Regions from separate parts of the Homo sapiens genome. Here all the other regions are linked to region 3. Evidence: promoter capture Hi-C in human tissues and cell types (Jung and others, 2019). All regions are on one chromosome and are shown on one strand. Each heading gives the region's core, a stretch centred on a gene start or on the middle of the fragment in contact. The rest is flanking DNA. Distances are from core to core; before and after follow the strand shown.

Evidence for each region. Contacts are between HindIII fragments. The study calls those that stand out against the background at their distance.
Region 1: a fragment that was not itself captured here is called in contact with the fragment with the promoter of PEX26 in region 3 in 1 of the 25 tissues and cell types used here (lymphoblastoid cells).
Region 2: a fragment that was not itself captured here is called in contact with the fragment with the promoter of PEX26 in region 3 in 1 of the 25 tissues and cell types used here (lymphoblastoid cells).

The regions. Positions count from the first base shown.
Region 1 is chr22:17,518,072-17,522,866 of GRCh38, forward strand. All of the region lies in intron 8 of CECR2 (CECR2 histone acetyl-lysine reader), which reads left to right. It also overlaps the pseudogene DNAJA1P6. Among named protein-coding and RNA genes, the nearest start is that of SLC25A18, 43 kb to the right of the region's middle. The HindIII fragment of the contact is 6,795 bases long and covers 1-4,795 here.
Region 2 is chr22:17,229,429-17,234,457 of GRCh38, forward strand. No RefSeq gene overlaps it. Among named protein-coding and RNA genes, the nearest start is that of ADA2, 13 kb to the left of the region's middle. RefSeq lists an enhancer at 4,975-5,029. The HindIII fragment of the contact is 6,517 bases long and covers 1-5,029 here.
Region 3 is chr22:18,075,408-18,079,776 of GRCh38, forward strand. It overlaps PEX26 (peroxisomal biogenesis factor 26), which reads left to right and starts at 2,583. Exons shown (of 5, transcript NM_001127649.3): 1 at 2,583-3,199. The coding sequence starts at 2,970. It overlaps LOC105372853 (a long non-coding RNA gene), which reads left to right. Exons shown (of 6, transcript XR_001755424.2): 6 at 2,251-2,489. RefSeq lists enhancers at 2,257-2,316, 2,647-2,876, 3,357-3,406 and a silencer at 2,947-2,996. The HindIII fragment of the contact is 17,547 bases long and covers 1-4,369 here.

The sequences.
Region 1 (4,795 bases), core at 1,422-3,921, 560 kb before region 3:
TCTTTGCTGATTTGCCTCAGAGCCCACCAGTTCTTTTTGATCATCCCATCAGTCTCTTCTACTTCCTTTCTACCAGGTAGAAGTTTTTCCAGCAAAGAGAGTTTATTAGGAGAGAGAGCCATTCTGAGGAGCGTTTACATAAATTAAGTGATTAGGCGACGCTTTGCATACGGTGTGCAGTAAATTGGCATTCCTTCATTTAGCACACACTTGATGTCCCCGTGCTTGACATTCTGACCTGGACCATGGTTCAGTCTTGAAAGCAGATGTTAGCGTTTGGGAGTCACACAGTGTTTCAGCCAGCTGTGTGTCTGTACACAGGAAAAGGTCTTCTCCCTGTCAAGTAAAAACAGCATGGTCTTTCTGTTCTACCCCAGTGGTAATGTTTCCTGGCTCCAGTTCTGGTCTTGGTATCCTTCACCACGGAATGTTATCTTCTGGCCATCTTTCATGCCTTTGTCAATATGGACTTCTAGAATCTCCTTCTCTGCAACTGTCTTCCTTCCATTGCAGCTGTCACGTCTATCTTTAGGACGGATGGTTTCCCCATGGGCTTGGCACTCCATGCACACAGATTGAATTTGCTGAACCATTCCAGGTCTTATTGATGAATTACTGTTTGCATTCAAGCACCTCAGCAGTTGGCACAGCAGGATCCTGCTCCCTTCTTAACACCTCTGCCTTCACATTTGTCACAAATCATATTCTTTTGCAGAGCCAGTTTTCTTTTTTCACCATTGGATAGATCTCCTAAGGCTACTGAGAGCTGATGTAGGAGTTTTTACCTCTCCTTTCTCTTAGTATCCTTCCTTCTCCCCCAAAAAAACTTAGCAGAGATGTCCATGGGGGAATGAGAACTGCCACCAGCCCCACCCTCTTTAATTGCCTGTCCTCCTTTGTCATAGAATTCCCTATTCTCTGCATCAGAGAGAACTTCTCAAGATTGAGAAATCCATTTAACTTCTCTCCTTCATTTAGATTCTTACCAGGGTATTACTTCAAAGCCATTTTTAAGCCTTTGTCAGTTCTTCGTGGGTAGCATTAGGTTTGACCCCCAAGATGTCATAGTAAGTGGTTTCTTTCACAATTTTCTGTAGCCAGTGAGTGGGCTGAGGCTGGTGGTGGGGAGTGGGGAGGGGCCTGTAGCTCTGTGCAGTCCGTGCAGCCACTGCTCCTCCACCTCACACCAAGCATCTGGAAAGTTCCCTCAGGTGTTTTGTGTTTTTTTTTTTTTTTTTGAGACGGAGTCTCATTCTGTCACCCAGGCTGGAGTGCAGTGGCACAATCTCAGCTTACTGCAACCTCTGCCTCCCGAGTAGCTGGGACTACAGGCGCCCGCCACCATGCCCAGCTAATTTTTTGTATTGTTAGTAGAGACAGGGTTCACCACATTAGCCAGGAAGGTCTTGATCTCCTGACCTCGTGAACCACCCACCTCGGCCTCCCACAGTGCTGGGATTACAGGCATGGGCCACCATGCCCGGCCCCTCGTGTGCTTTATATATTGTTTGTGAGTTTTGTGTTCGTGTTCCATTTGTTTGAGGGGAGCACTGTTAACTGATTGTGAGATATTACATATTAAGAATAATAAGTCATACTCATTACAGAAAAAGAATTATATATTAGTAAGATTTAGGTTATTGGCTTTTGGGTTTTTTCTCTTTCTCCCTCTCCACTGACTTAACACATGAACACTTCCTATGTTGGTTTAGATTATCAAGTCTTTTTTTTTTTTTTTGAGACATAATCTCACTCTGTTGCCAGGCTGGAGTGCAGTGGCACAATCTTGGTTCACTGCAACCTCCGCCTCCCAGGTTCAAGCGATTTTCCTGCCTCAGCCCCCCAAGTAGCTGGGACTACAGGCACACACCACCGTGCCCAGCTAATTTTTGTATTTTTAGTAAAGACAGAGTTTCACCATGTTTACCAGGATGGTCTCAATCTCTTAACCTCATGATCCACCCACCTTGGCCTCCCAAGGTGCTGAGATTACAGGCGTGAGCCACCGTGCCTGGCCAGATTATCAAGTCTTGAGTGACTTAACATTACAATTTCATGAGTAATTGGCTTGCATTTGCTCAGTCCTTATTAAAATGTTAGATTCTATTTAATGTACCCTGTACTGATGAAAGAAGAATATTTCACAGGTTTACACCTATTGTCTTTTGTTGTGGGGGAGAGTGGCCAGAATACACATAGGTAATTCTGTAAATAACTTTCATGTTTGATATATAGATATACCTGTTTTCCTCTCATTTTGGGGTCTGACATACATAAAGCATCACAATTCTCTTTCAATGAAATCTTCCCTTTGACAAGGCTCAGGTTTTTTTTTTATTGTAAGTAGGATTTTTAAATTATTATTATACTTTAAGTTCTAGAGTACATGTGCAGAATGTGCAGGTTTGTTACATAGGTATACATACATGTGCCATGTTGGTTTGCTGCACCCATCAACTCATCATTTACATTAGGTATTTCTCCTAATGCTATCCCTCCCCCAGTCCCCCACCCTCTGACAGACCCCGGTGTGTGATGTTCCCCGCCCTGTGCCCAAGTGTTCTCATTGTTCAGTTCCCACCTATGAGTGAGAACATGCGGTGTTTGGTTTTCTGTCTTGTGATAGTTTGCTGAGAATGATGGTTTCCAGCTTCATTCATGTCCCTGCAAAGGACATGAACTCGTCTTTTTGGGTTTTTTGGGCTGCATAGTATTCCATGGTGTATATGTGCCTCATTTTCTTATTCCAGTCTATCATTGATGTCCATTGATGGACAATTTGGGTTGGTTCCAAGTCTTTGCTATTGTGAATAGCGCCGCAATAAACATACGTGTGCATGTGTCTTTATAGTAGCATGATTTACAATCCTTTGGGTATATACCCAGTAATGGGATCACTGGGTCAAATGGTATTTCTAGTTCTAGATCCTTGAGGAATTGTCACACTGTCTTCCCCAATGGTTGAACCAGTTTACACTCCCACCAACAGCGTAAAAGCGTTCCTATTTCTCCACATCCTCTCCAGCATCTGTTGTTTCCTGACTTTTTAATGATCGCCATTCTAACTGGCGTGAGATGGTATCTCATTGTGGTTTTGATTTGCATTTCTCTGATGACCAGTGATGATGAGCATTTTTTCATGTGTCTTTTGGCTGCATAAATGTCTTCTTTTGAGAAGCATCTGTTCGGCCGGGCGCAGTGGCTCACGCCTGTAATCCCAGCACTTTGGGAGGCCAAGGCAGGAGGATCACGAGGTCAGGAGATCGAGACCATCCTGGCTAACACAGTGATACCCCGTCTCTACTAAAAATACAAAAAATTAGCCAGGCGTGGTGGCGGGCGCCTGTAGTCCCAGCTACTCAGGAGGCTGACGCAGGAGAATGGTGGAGCTTGCAGTGAGCCGAGATGGCGCCACTGCACTCCAGCCTGGGTGACAGAGCGAGACTCCATCTCAAAAAAAAAAAAAAGAGAGAGAGAGAGAAGTGTCTGTTCATATCCTTTGCCCACTTTTTCATGGGGTTGTTTGATTTTTTTTGTTGTTGTTAATTTCTTTAAGTTCTTTGTACATTCTGGATATCAGCCCTTTGTCAGATGAGTAGATTGTAAAAATTTTCTCCCATTCTGTAGGTTGCCTGTTCACTCTGATGGTAGTTTCTTTTGCTGTGCAGAAGCTCTTTAGTTTAATTAGATCCCATTTGTCTGTTTTGGCTTTTGTTGCCATTGCTTTTGGTGTTTTAGTCATGAAGTCCTTGCCCATGCCTATGTCCTGAATGGTAATGCCTAGGTTTTCTTCTAGGGTTTTTATGGTTTTAGGTTTTACATTTAAGTCTTTAATGCATCTTGAATTAATTTTTGTATAAGGTATAAGGAAGGGATCCAGTTTCAGCTTTCTACATATGGCTAGCCAGTTTTCCCAGCACCATTTATTAAATACGGAATCCTTTCCCTGTTACTGGTTTTTGTCAGGTTTGTCAAAGATCATATGGTTGTAGATGTGTGGTGTTATTTCTGAGGCCTCTGTTCTGTTCCATTGGTCTATATCTCTGTTTTGGTACCAGTACCATGCTGTTTTGGTTACTGTAGTGACAAGGCTCAGTATTATCTCCTCTCTTTCCCCTGCCCATGTGAGTCAACTGATACCTTATGGTGTTTTTTTGGCATCAGTATACATCTGAAAAGAGCAAAGGCAAATAGTTTTGTTTTACTTTGCTTTGTTAACTGCAGTTTCATCATATCTCAGCTGGGTAAAGATGTTGCTGGAACAATTAAGAACCTTGGAAGTGGGGTGGAAGTGAGAGCAGGGATTATGGCAAAATTTAGGGAAGGTGCTTGACAGACATTTATTCGGGAAGCAGTGGCCAGAGTTGCAGTCTTCGGGACAGTCGTCCTTGCCAAGTGTCCATAGCATCCCCTTTTCAGAATCAACATCCACCATATTGAAACTGGCCTGCTCTGGCTATAGGATAAAGATTTTATGGTTGTTATTTAATTCTGTTTGTTACACTGAGACACCTTATGGGTACAGTGTTAACGTATGCAGTTTTTATTTTTGTCCCTCCTGTTCATTCCAGATTTTTACCTGTAAACTCTTCTAAAGTCAGGCTCATAGATTTTTGAATGGTGAAAATGACATTGAGAAGTCAACTAACTGGGCCACGCGCCATGGCTCACGCCTGTAATCCCAGCACTTTGGGAGGCTGAGGTGGGCGGATCACCTGAGGTCAGGAGTTCTAGTCCAGCCTGGTCAACATGGTGAAATCCCATCTCTACTAAAAATACAAAAATTAGCTAGGCG
Region 2 (5,029 bases), core at 1,083-3,582, 850 kb before region 3:
CATCCACCCAGTTGTTTCTGCCAGAAACCTGATTTCCACTCTAGAAAATGAGGAGGAGTTAGCGGATATCTTCCACATCTCCCACCCCAAATCTCCACCAGGCCCCCATGTTTACCCTTCAACCTGCCCACTCCTTCCATCTCCACAGTTGCAACCCAATGCAAGGCCCCATCATCCCTCAGCTGCTCACTTCAGCAGCTTCTACTTTTGTCCCCTTTCCATTAATTTTCCACTCTGCAGATCTAAAAACACAAATTTCAGCATGCCCCTCATGTTCCTTCCTGCTGAAAACCTTTCAAAGTCTACCCACTACACAGTGAGCAAAATGCAAGCTCTTTTTCTTGGCCTGCTGGGCCAGCCTTATCTGGCCTGGAGACCATGTCTCCACCCTCTCCCCCAGCTCCCGACCTGCTGGCCAGCCTTCCTGTGGCCTCTCAAGTGAGGGGGCCCTTCACTTCCAAGGCGCTGCTGTGCAATCCCCTTTACGGGGGAGCTCCTTCCCCTCCTTGACTAGTGCAGCTCCCACCCATCCTTGAGATCCCGATGGAAATGTGTCTTCCTGGGGAGGGCTTCAGGGAACACCCCTATAGGAAGTTAGCCCCGGTTCCACTCTTCACAATACCCTTTTATCTTCTTCCACAACATGTATCACAGCTTGTGATTTTGTATTCATAGATTTCTATGACTGTTCGTTTCATATATATTCGCATAGCAGATGGAAAGCTGTTGTTTACCTTGGGGTCTTCATAGTGCCAGGCTCAGAGGAAGGACCCAAACGTCTGCTGCGGGAAGGCACGCATGATTGAAAGTATGGAGGAAAAGAGCGGGTGTTTGGGTGTATGAGTGTTTGTTAGACATTTAGGTCTCCTCAACCTGGTGTAACACAGAAGAGGCAAATGACACCAGGGTGCCTTGCAAGGAGTGGCCAATCAGCCCAGCCATTCGCTGTGTGGCTTCTTGTGTGCCATTGGCCAAAACTTGTCATAAATAGATGAGCCTACAATGCCAGCAGTGTACACAGTGCCTCCTGGAATCGGGCAGCACTCTACTTGTGCAATCATACCACAATCTTAGAGATCATGATAAATGCCAACAGCAAATGGATAAGCCTGGGCAAGTTCTTCTTGTTTGTTTGCATTTAGCTCTTCATTTTCTTTTTTTTCTTTTCTTTTCTTTTTTTTTTTTTTGAGACAAAGTTTCACTCTTGTTGCCCAGGCTGGAGTGTAATGGCACGATCTCAGCTCACTGCAACCTCCGTCTCCTGGGTTCAAAGCAATTCTCCTGCCTCGGCCTCCCGCGTAGCTGGTATTATAGCCATGCGCCACCACGCCTGGCTAATTTTGCATTTTCAGTAGAGATGGGGTTTCTCCATGTTGGTCAGGCTGGTCTCGAACTCCCGACCTCAGGTGATCTGCCCGCCTCGGCCTCCCAAAGTGCTGGGATTATAGGCATGAGTCACCGCACCCGGCTTTTTAAATTTTTTTATTTTTTACTTTTATTTTTTAGATGGAGTCTCACTCTGTCGCCCAGGCTGGAGTGCAATGGCGCAATCTCGGCTCACTGCAACCTCTGCCTTCCGGGTTCAAGCAATTCTCTGACTCAGCCTCCCAAGTAGCTGGGATTATAGGCACCCACCACCACACCGGGCTAATTTTTCTATTTTTTAGTAGAGATGGGGTTTCATCATCTTGGCCAGGCTGGTCTTGAACTCCTGACCTTGTGATCCACCCACCTTGGCCTCCCAAAGTGCTGGGATTACAGGCATGAGCCACCGCGCCCGGCCTAGCTCCTCATTTTCAGTGCAACACTGAAACATCCCGAGGGATCAAGCCCAAGCCACTTGCCTCCCATCTTTCTGTTTCTCATCTCCCACACACTCTTTTTTTGTTTTTTTTGAGACGGGAATCTCGCTCTGTCACCCAGGCTGGAGTGCAGTGGTGCCACCTCCATTCACCACAACCTCCACCTCCCGGGTTCAAGTGGTTCTCATGCCTCAGCCTCCTGAGTAGCTGAGATTACAGGCACCCGCCACTAATTTAAAAATTAAATATAAAAATTAGCCTGCTGGCTAATTTTTGTATTTTTAGTAGAGAGGAGGTTTCACCATGTTGACCAGGCTGGTCTCGAACGTCTGATCTCAACTGATCCGCCCGCCTCAGCCTCTGAAAGTGCTGGGATTACAGGCGTGAGCCACCACGCCCAGACTCCCATACTTTGTAAGCACCGACATTTATCTTTACAACTCTCCGTAGTTTTCTTTCTTCCATTCCTATTTTTCATTTTCTTTTCTGCGGGGAAAAGGGAGTGGCTTTTTCTTTATCACTGCTGTCATGCCTGGTGAGACTGTCTGTATTTTGGTCCTTTCCTTTGGCTGCCCCAGGAATCATCATCAATTATGCCAACATCTGTGACTTGCCACCTTCAAAGTGGGCTCTGAATCCAAAGACAAAAGATGGCCCTCTGGGCCAGACGTGGTGGCTCACACCTGTAATCCCAGCACTTTGGGAGGCTGAAGCAGAAGAATTGCTTGAGCGCAGAAGTTTGAGGCTGCAGTGAGCCATAATCACACCACTGCACTCCAGTCCAGGCGACAGAGCAAGACCATATCTCTAAAAAATAATAATAATAAAAACTTAAAAAAAAAAAGTAGGAAAAAAAAGGCCTCTCGTGTGATTGTGCATGTTTTGGCCAGCCTTTTCTATACGTCAGACGTGGGGTCCGTGGCCTTGTTGGGGTGAAGGACTTTTATTTCCACCTGTTGACAGGACAGCAGGAGGACTGCCTGCCCTTCCTGGTCTGACGGTTGCTGTGTTGTTCTCAAGAGCCTTCCTCCAGCAGCAGGGAGGGGAGGACTGGCTGTCTCAGAATCTTTTAAAAGCCCTGCTGTCTGAGGACCTGCATCACCCAGGATTCCGTTTCATTTCTCCAGCCACAATCCCTGCCAGTGTTCTCTGCACTCTGGATGAGAGACCTTAGGAAAGCAAATCAGATCGTATCACTTCCCTTCTGAAAATTCCAAAAGCTCCCCCCGCCCCCGCCGCACCGGCCTCTCTTTATTGGCCCCCTGCACAGCCTCCAGCTCCTCGTACTGACCTCTTTGCAGTTCTCCAAACCGGCCAGGCTCGTGCTTTGCAGAGGCCTTTGCACAGGTGCACACACCCGCTGGGCCTGGAAGACCTTTCCCTTCCCGCTTCACGAAGGCCAGGTGGCCTCCCTGGGCTGAGCCCCTGTCTCAGCATGTGGCGCACTGTGTTGAAATGCTCCAGGACTTGAGTGCGTCTATCACTGGGATACACCTCCCAATGGCAGAGGCAGTCTCGTCACCAAATACTGTGGGTGCCGCTCTCTATATAACTGCTCGGTCAATGTTTGCCCAGTGGTTGAATGAATGGATGCGAGAAGCTGCTTAGTTCCCTTCTCTCCCTGGGGCTCCAGTCCTGCCACGGAGGGAGCATTAGGAACAAGCACTCACAACTGTTCTTTGACAGGTCTTTGTGACTGATTAAGCAGGTCCTTTATCTCTAATGTGCATTTCCTTATCGCTGTTCTACATCTCCTGGCCTCCTCTTTAAACCAAAAGCTCCATCCAGAGCCTCCAAATGGATGACTATTCAGCAGGACCGCAAGAGGAGCGCTGTTGAGGGGAAAGAGTAGTGGGGGGGATGGCGCTGAGACAGAGGGAGGAAGGGCAGAGGAACCCAACTTCTCAGCTGCCTCTTTTGTGCTCTGTCCTTTCCCTTCTAACTCCCTCCCCACTCTGTGCACCACCTATTACTGTCCCTATTGTAGAAGATGTGGAAACGCGGGCCTCACGGGTTCAATAGCCAACAGACACTCAGTTCCGCAGCCATCAAGAGGAAGACCAGGTAAAAACAACAGCCACAGCTGAGCTCCACAGATGACCTGGTGTAAGCCTCAGTCGCCTTATGAGGTGGGCAAGCACTTTCCCCCCATTCAACAGATGAAAAACCTGACTTCAGAGAAGCTAATACCCTGGATCCAGGTTCCAGCAAGTGGCTGAGCCAGGCCCATGACACTAAACCTGTCCTTCGCTTACAGCCTCCTAGGGGAGGAGAGAGAAAACAGAAGCGGGAAAAGGCCAATTGAGAGGGAGAAAGTTCTGGAGCAGGACTGCAAGGCGACCTTGGCTTCCTGGCCCCTGATGGCTGTATTTGCAGGTGCATCACACACCCTTCTCAGCCTCTGCTCCCTGCACTGAACATGCTGGAACTCCAACCACACCTCACCTGCCACCTTCCTACCAGACACTTCTATTTGCCCTTCTCCCACTTTTGCCCAGGGGCCAGTTTCAGCTGCTCACTTTCCAAAGGATCACTTGAGCAGCACCTCCATCTACACAGACTGCAGAAGGCCCAACTGAATGCAGGCTGGATGCAGCCTGGGCTGCACCTTAGAATCACCTGGGAAACTTTTACAAGCCACAGGTGTCTAGGCCCCGCCCCAGGCCCATTAAGTCACATTCCTTGGACTTGGGCTCTGGTATATTTAGGGGTGCAGGGGAGTGGTCTGGTATATTTTAAAAGCTTCCCTAGTGATTATTCTGCACAGAGGACTCAAAGCCACCCCATTTCCGGAGACAGGTTCACATGAAAAAGTTGAATAGCAACATTCGGCATCATCTACACACATTAAGATTCAGATTCCTCGAGAGTCACACCTGGGCGCTGGCGACTCCCTCCTGAAGGCCACCCCGAGGGAGTCCAGGAGAAAGAGGAAGGAGACTCCAGAGGAGGAGAGGATGGGAAGGATGGAGAGCAGCCCCTCCCACCTCTTCCCAGTGGCTCCACCCCTCTTCCTCAAAGAGCATGGGTGTTCCCTGCCCGCCTCCAAGAAGCTCCTGCTTTCACCACCGCGAGAAATCCCTCCGTCTAGCGCATCCAACTGGGAACTGCACTCCGGAGGACAATGCTTGGCTCCCCTTGGCACGGGTATTGTGCCTGTACCCCTGGGCCGGCCTTGATGCACAGTGAACCTCTGTCTTGGGAGACCCACGCTCTCTTTCCTCCCC
Region 3 (4,369 bases), core at 1,333-3,832:
AGTGCTGGGATTACAGGCATGAACCACTGTGCCCCACCTGAAGGAACCAGGATTCTAGCCATGCCTCTCATCTCCAGTCCAGTGTGCTTTCTGCTACAAAAACAACAACTCATCCCCTGCTACAGCAGGCTGAGCAAATCTGCCTCCTCAGGCAAGGAGCCACACTGAGCCCTCTGCCAAATGGAAGGAACAACCCCAAGTTCCAGAGCCTAGGTAGGGCTAGGGAAGGGGTTGTAACGAGGATACTGGCATCTCAGGTGCTCTGCCAGTTTTCCCAAAATAAAACTATTCAAACAATACAAATATTAATATGGGCCTGGCCTTATACATCTGAAAGGACTGTCCTTATTTCCACTGTGTTTTTTGTCTCAAAGATGAGGAAATGACAGAAGAGATGATTTCAAAGGCTGTCCCATGAGCTCCAACTTAGAGACAGAAGTTTGGCTAAGTAAAGACAATACGCATTTATGTTCCCCCAGAGGGAATGAATTCGCTTCTGTTTAGGATTTCTGTGTCTTCGCTTGAGAAAGTCTAAGTACTTGTAGACATAGAGGAGATGATGTGTCCCACTGGATGTGTGTTGAGGAATCCATTTGTGGGCATAATAGTGCTAAACAGTGGTTACATACGGACTGATATGAAGCCCGGGAATAGTTGAAAATTGGGTGAATCAGAAATGGAATACAATCATATTTTTATATGGTTTCTAGCTCTCCTCTCTCCTGCCTTAAATATCTTGACCTCATTCTGGCTGTCTCACTACTAAATAGGCAAATTTACTTTTAGCAAGGCTGCTTCTGTTAAGACTGTGCCTCCATCTCCTGGACAAATTTGGAATAGCAAGAAATTTGTTAGGAAAGGGACTTTTCCAGGCAGCAGCCGCTTAGAGCTGGCCGCTTCTGAGCATGTTCGTCTTCCCAGGCCTGGCTCACATTTTCAGTGCTTAATGCGCATGGCGCTTTATGCGCAATATTACTTAATTCTTCCCTCAGCCATTGGGAGCTAAGGACAAACTGTTATCCCAATTTTACAGGTGAGGAAATCAGAGCTTATTTAAATAAATTGCCGAGGTCACACAACTAGTAAGCGACAAAATCTCAGTCAAACCGAGGCTCTTTTGGTTCAAAGATGTGTATTGAGCTCTACTCTGCTCTGCAGGGACAGAACTAAGTATGTTTGCTATTCAGGGGATACACAGTCATTCCATGAGCAAGTTACACAATGTAAAATAAGGACATTGTGAAAAACAAAACCATACCGTACATAATGCACTTTATAGTAAAGTACTGGGAACAGAGTATTTGGTAAATTGTAACTATAATAATAATTTTAAACAGATCCACAAATCACACTTATTATTATATTCTGTTTCACCCGGGCTTTGCCAAGCTTCCCACATTTGTACTAGATCCTCTTGGCTTTAGTTTCTCCCCAGTTCTCTACCCTTTGAATTCACTCCAAAGCTTCCCTAGAATCTTTGCTCTCCTAGAAATTAGATTAAACAGGCACCTGCTCACATCATACATCCCCTGCCCTTGTCACCAGACATGCACACATCCATCTTCTGGGATTTCCGTTCTCTTGCAGAAAAGTCTGCATGGGAAGCTGAGGCAGAACCAAGTCCACCAGACTCCGAGGAAAGAGAAGTCTGGACCCTGTAACCAGATAAAAGTGAAACCAGGACTTCATTTATTCCACAAATACTTTTTGACTACCTATAGATGACAGGCACTGTTCAAGGCATTGAGGTTCCCACAGTGAACAAAAGAGACAAAAACGTCTGCCTTTGTGAGTTTATATCATAGTGGAAGGAAATAGACAATAAAAATAAGTAAAATATAGACATTGGTATGTAGATGGTGATAAATGATAAGGAGAAATATAAAGACAGATCGGAAGTGACAACAGTGGGGAAGTGGAATTGGTATCTGCATTTAACGTTGTTTTTTAACAGCAAATTCAGGATGGGGCAGAGAGCAGTGAGAAAAATGAGGCCCTTATGCTCAGCGCCCCCAACCCCGCCTCGGTGGGGTCACTATTCATTTTGGAACATTGCCCTTGGGACCAACATATTCTCAGTGGTCCTTGTGAAGGTTTCCACCCTAAGTCCCTCATCCTCACCAGGCAATATTCATTACCCTACAGCAAACTCCGGAGGCAACGCGGAGAAAGTGTGAATCAATTCAAGACTAAGGTTGCCAAAATGTTTGATCAGCTCTGCGTCAGCCTTGACATTACATTACATTACAGATCCCCTGATCGCCACCGTCGCAGAAGCTCTGAATTAAAAGCGTGCATGTAGCTGCACATCCATTGCTGGCACTTCTTCCGTTAGCCTCCGCTGGAACTGGTTAGTGAGGACCCCTCCATTTCACAAGACAGCTTCGGTTTTGCTTCGTTTTGACTTCCGCACCCCGAAGCTGTAGCACCAGTTTGTTTTCTCACGGCACAGGGGCGGCTTCCGGGGCGCGGCGTGCTGGGGGTTGTAGTCCGCGCTCTGCCTCCTACTTCCATTACAGAAGGCGATGGGCCGAGAGCTGAGGAACTACAACTCCTAGAGTACTCCGCGCCGCCGGGACGCCGCGCGGCTGCGGGGCTGGGCGAGCGCAAAGATGTCCGCGCCCGCTGCCGGGAGGCGAGGTGAGTCTTTGATCGTAACCAGGAGCCCGGAGCTGAGGCAGTTCCTGCACGTGTCGCGGGGCCGGAGAAGCTAGGGCCAGGTATTCCAGGGATGCAAGAATCCTGCAAATCTGACGTGTAAACTGCTTCCCCAGCCTCCAGGCGAGCCCAGCTTTTGCCTCAGATAGGCCCCTTCCTTTTCCTTCTCGGGGAATCGACCTCGGGAAGGGGTGTGGGCAAAGAGATGAGGACTCTCCCTCTTCGCCCAGGCCAACTCGGGATATCCCGGAGCCTCTGGGGAGGCGGTCACTCCGACGTCTGAGGACCTGGGCCTTGGACCCGGACTCGTTATGAAGAGCGATTCTTCGACCTCTGCAGCCCCCCTCAGGGGGCTCGGGGGACCCCTGCGCAGCAGCGAGCCGGTGCGCGCGGTCCCGGCCCGGGCGCCGGCCGTGGACCTTCTGGAGGAGGCGGCCGACCTCCTGGTGGTGCACCTGGACTTCCGGGCGGCGCTGGAGACCTGCGAGCGGGCCTGGCAGAGTCTGGCCAACCACGCCGTGGCAGAGGAACCCGCGGGCACGTACGTGCTGGGCTCGGAAATGAACCGATTTCCGGGCGCTCTTGTGGTGGGGCTCAAGGTCTCAGGAGTTCTGTCCTTCCCAGATTGCCCACAAGGAGCTTTACACCTCGCTTTCATCAGTGGTTTGTCTCCGAGAGGGTGGTCGCTCATCGTGTGCCCATTCTACAGAGAAGGGAAGTCGTGTAACAAAAACTTAGTGGGGATCCCACAGCCAATTATTTGCTCCTTGTTCCAAGGTACAATGACATGATGGGAAGGCTGAATGTGTATTAAGTGCTAAGTTCTGTCAGTAAGCAGGTGGTAAAAGTCCTCTCCCAGGTACCTCCGCCCTCCCCGCCCCGCCCAAGGTTGTTTATTCCTGACCTTGGCTGATGATGGGGAATGGGGGTCATGGCAGGAGCAGCGTTCTGGTCCAATTAGAGGACTGGATTAAAGAATTAATTCAGGGCCGGGAGCTGGGGCTTACGCCTGTAATCCCAGCACTTTGGGAGGCCGAGGCAGGAGGATTGCTTGAGCCCAGGAGTTCGAGACCAGCCTGGGTAACATAATGAGCCCTCTTCTCTACCAAAAAGAAGAAAAAGAAAAGAATCCGGAGAAAAAAACCTTGGGCTTGCATTGCTCTTTCTAATGCCACCAGCCTCGTCTGGCAGGTGAGGGAGTCATTTCTTTGCATTGTAAACTTGGGTTAGGCCACGCTAGGGAGGTGGTAGGTAGAATAGCTAAAGTTGACCACAAAGAAGGATGATCTGGAGAGCCCTGGCTGTGTTTTAGGGGACTGGGTGGGAGCTCATTTCAGTGAATGCAGAAGGCTTTGCTTCTGGGTGTCTGGAGGAACCTTACTAGGTGGTGCCTTTTAGCCAGCTATGGAGTCTATACCTCCACTCAGCCAGAAACCTTGCTCCAAGCCCATTTGTTCACAGAGCAAACTCTTAGTTCCAGCTCTCTTTTCAGCCACACACCGGTGCTGTGTGTTATTTCCCCCTCAGGATTACCCTTCCTCTTCATTTAAATCTGATTTCACCTGGATACAAAGATGAACGTTGAGCAACAGCTGACTTGCCTCTTGAAAGAGGGTTACAGGAACTTTTAGTTCCTGGGGGAAAGGGCAGCCCATGAGACCAATTGTGAAGCCCATCTAAATACTAACAGGGATGAGAGAGATGATGGCTG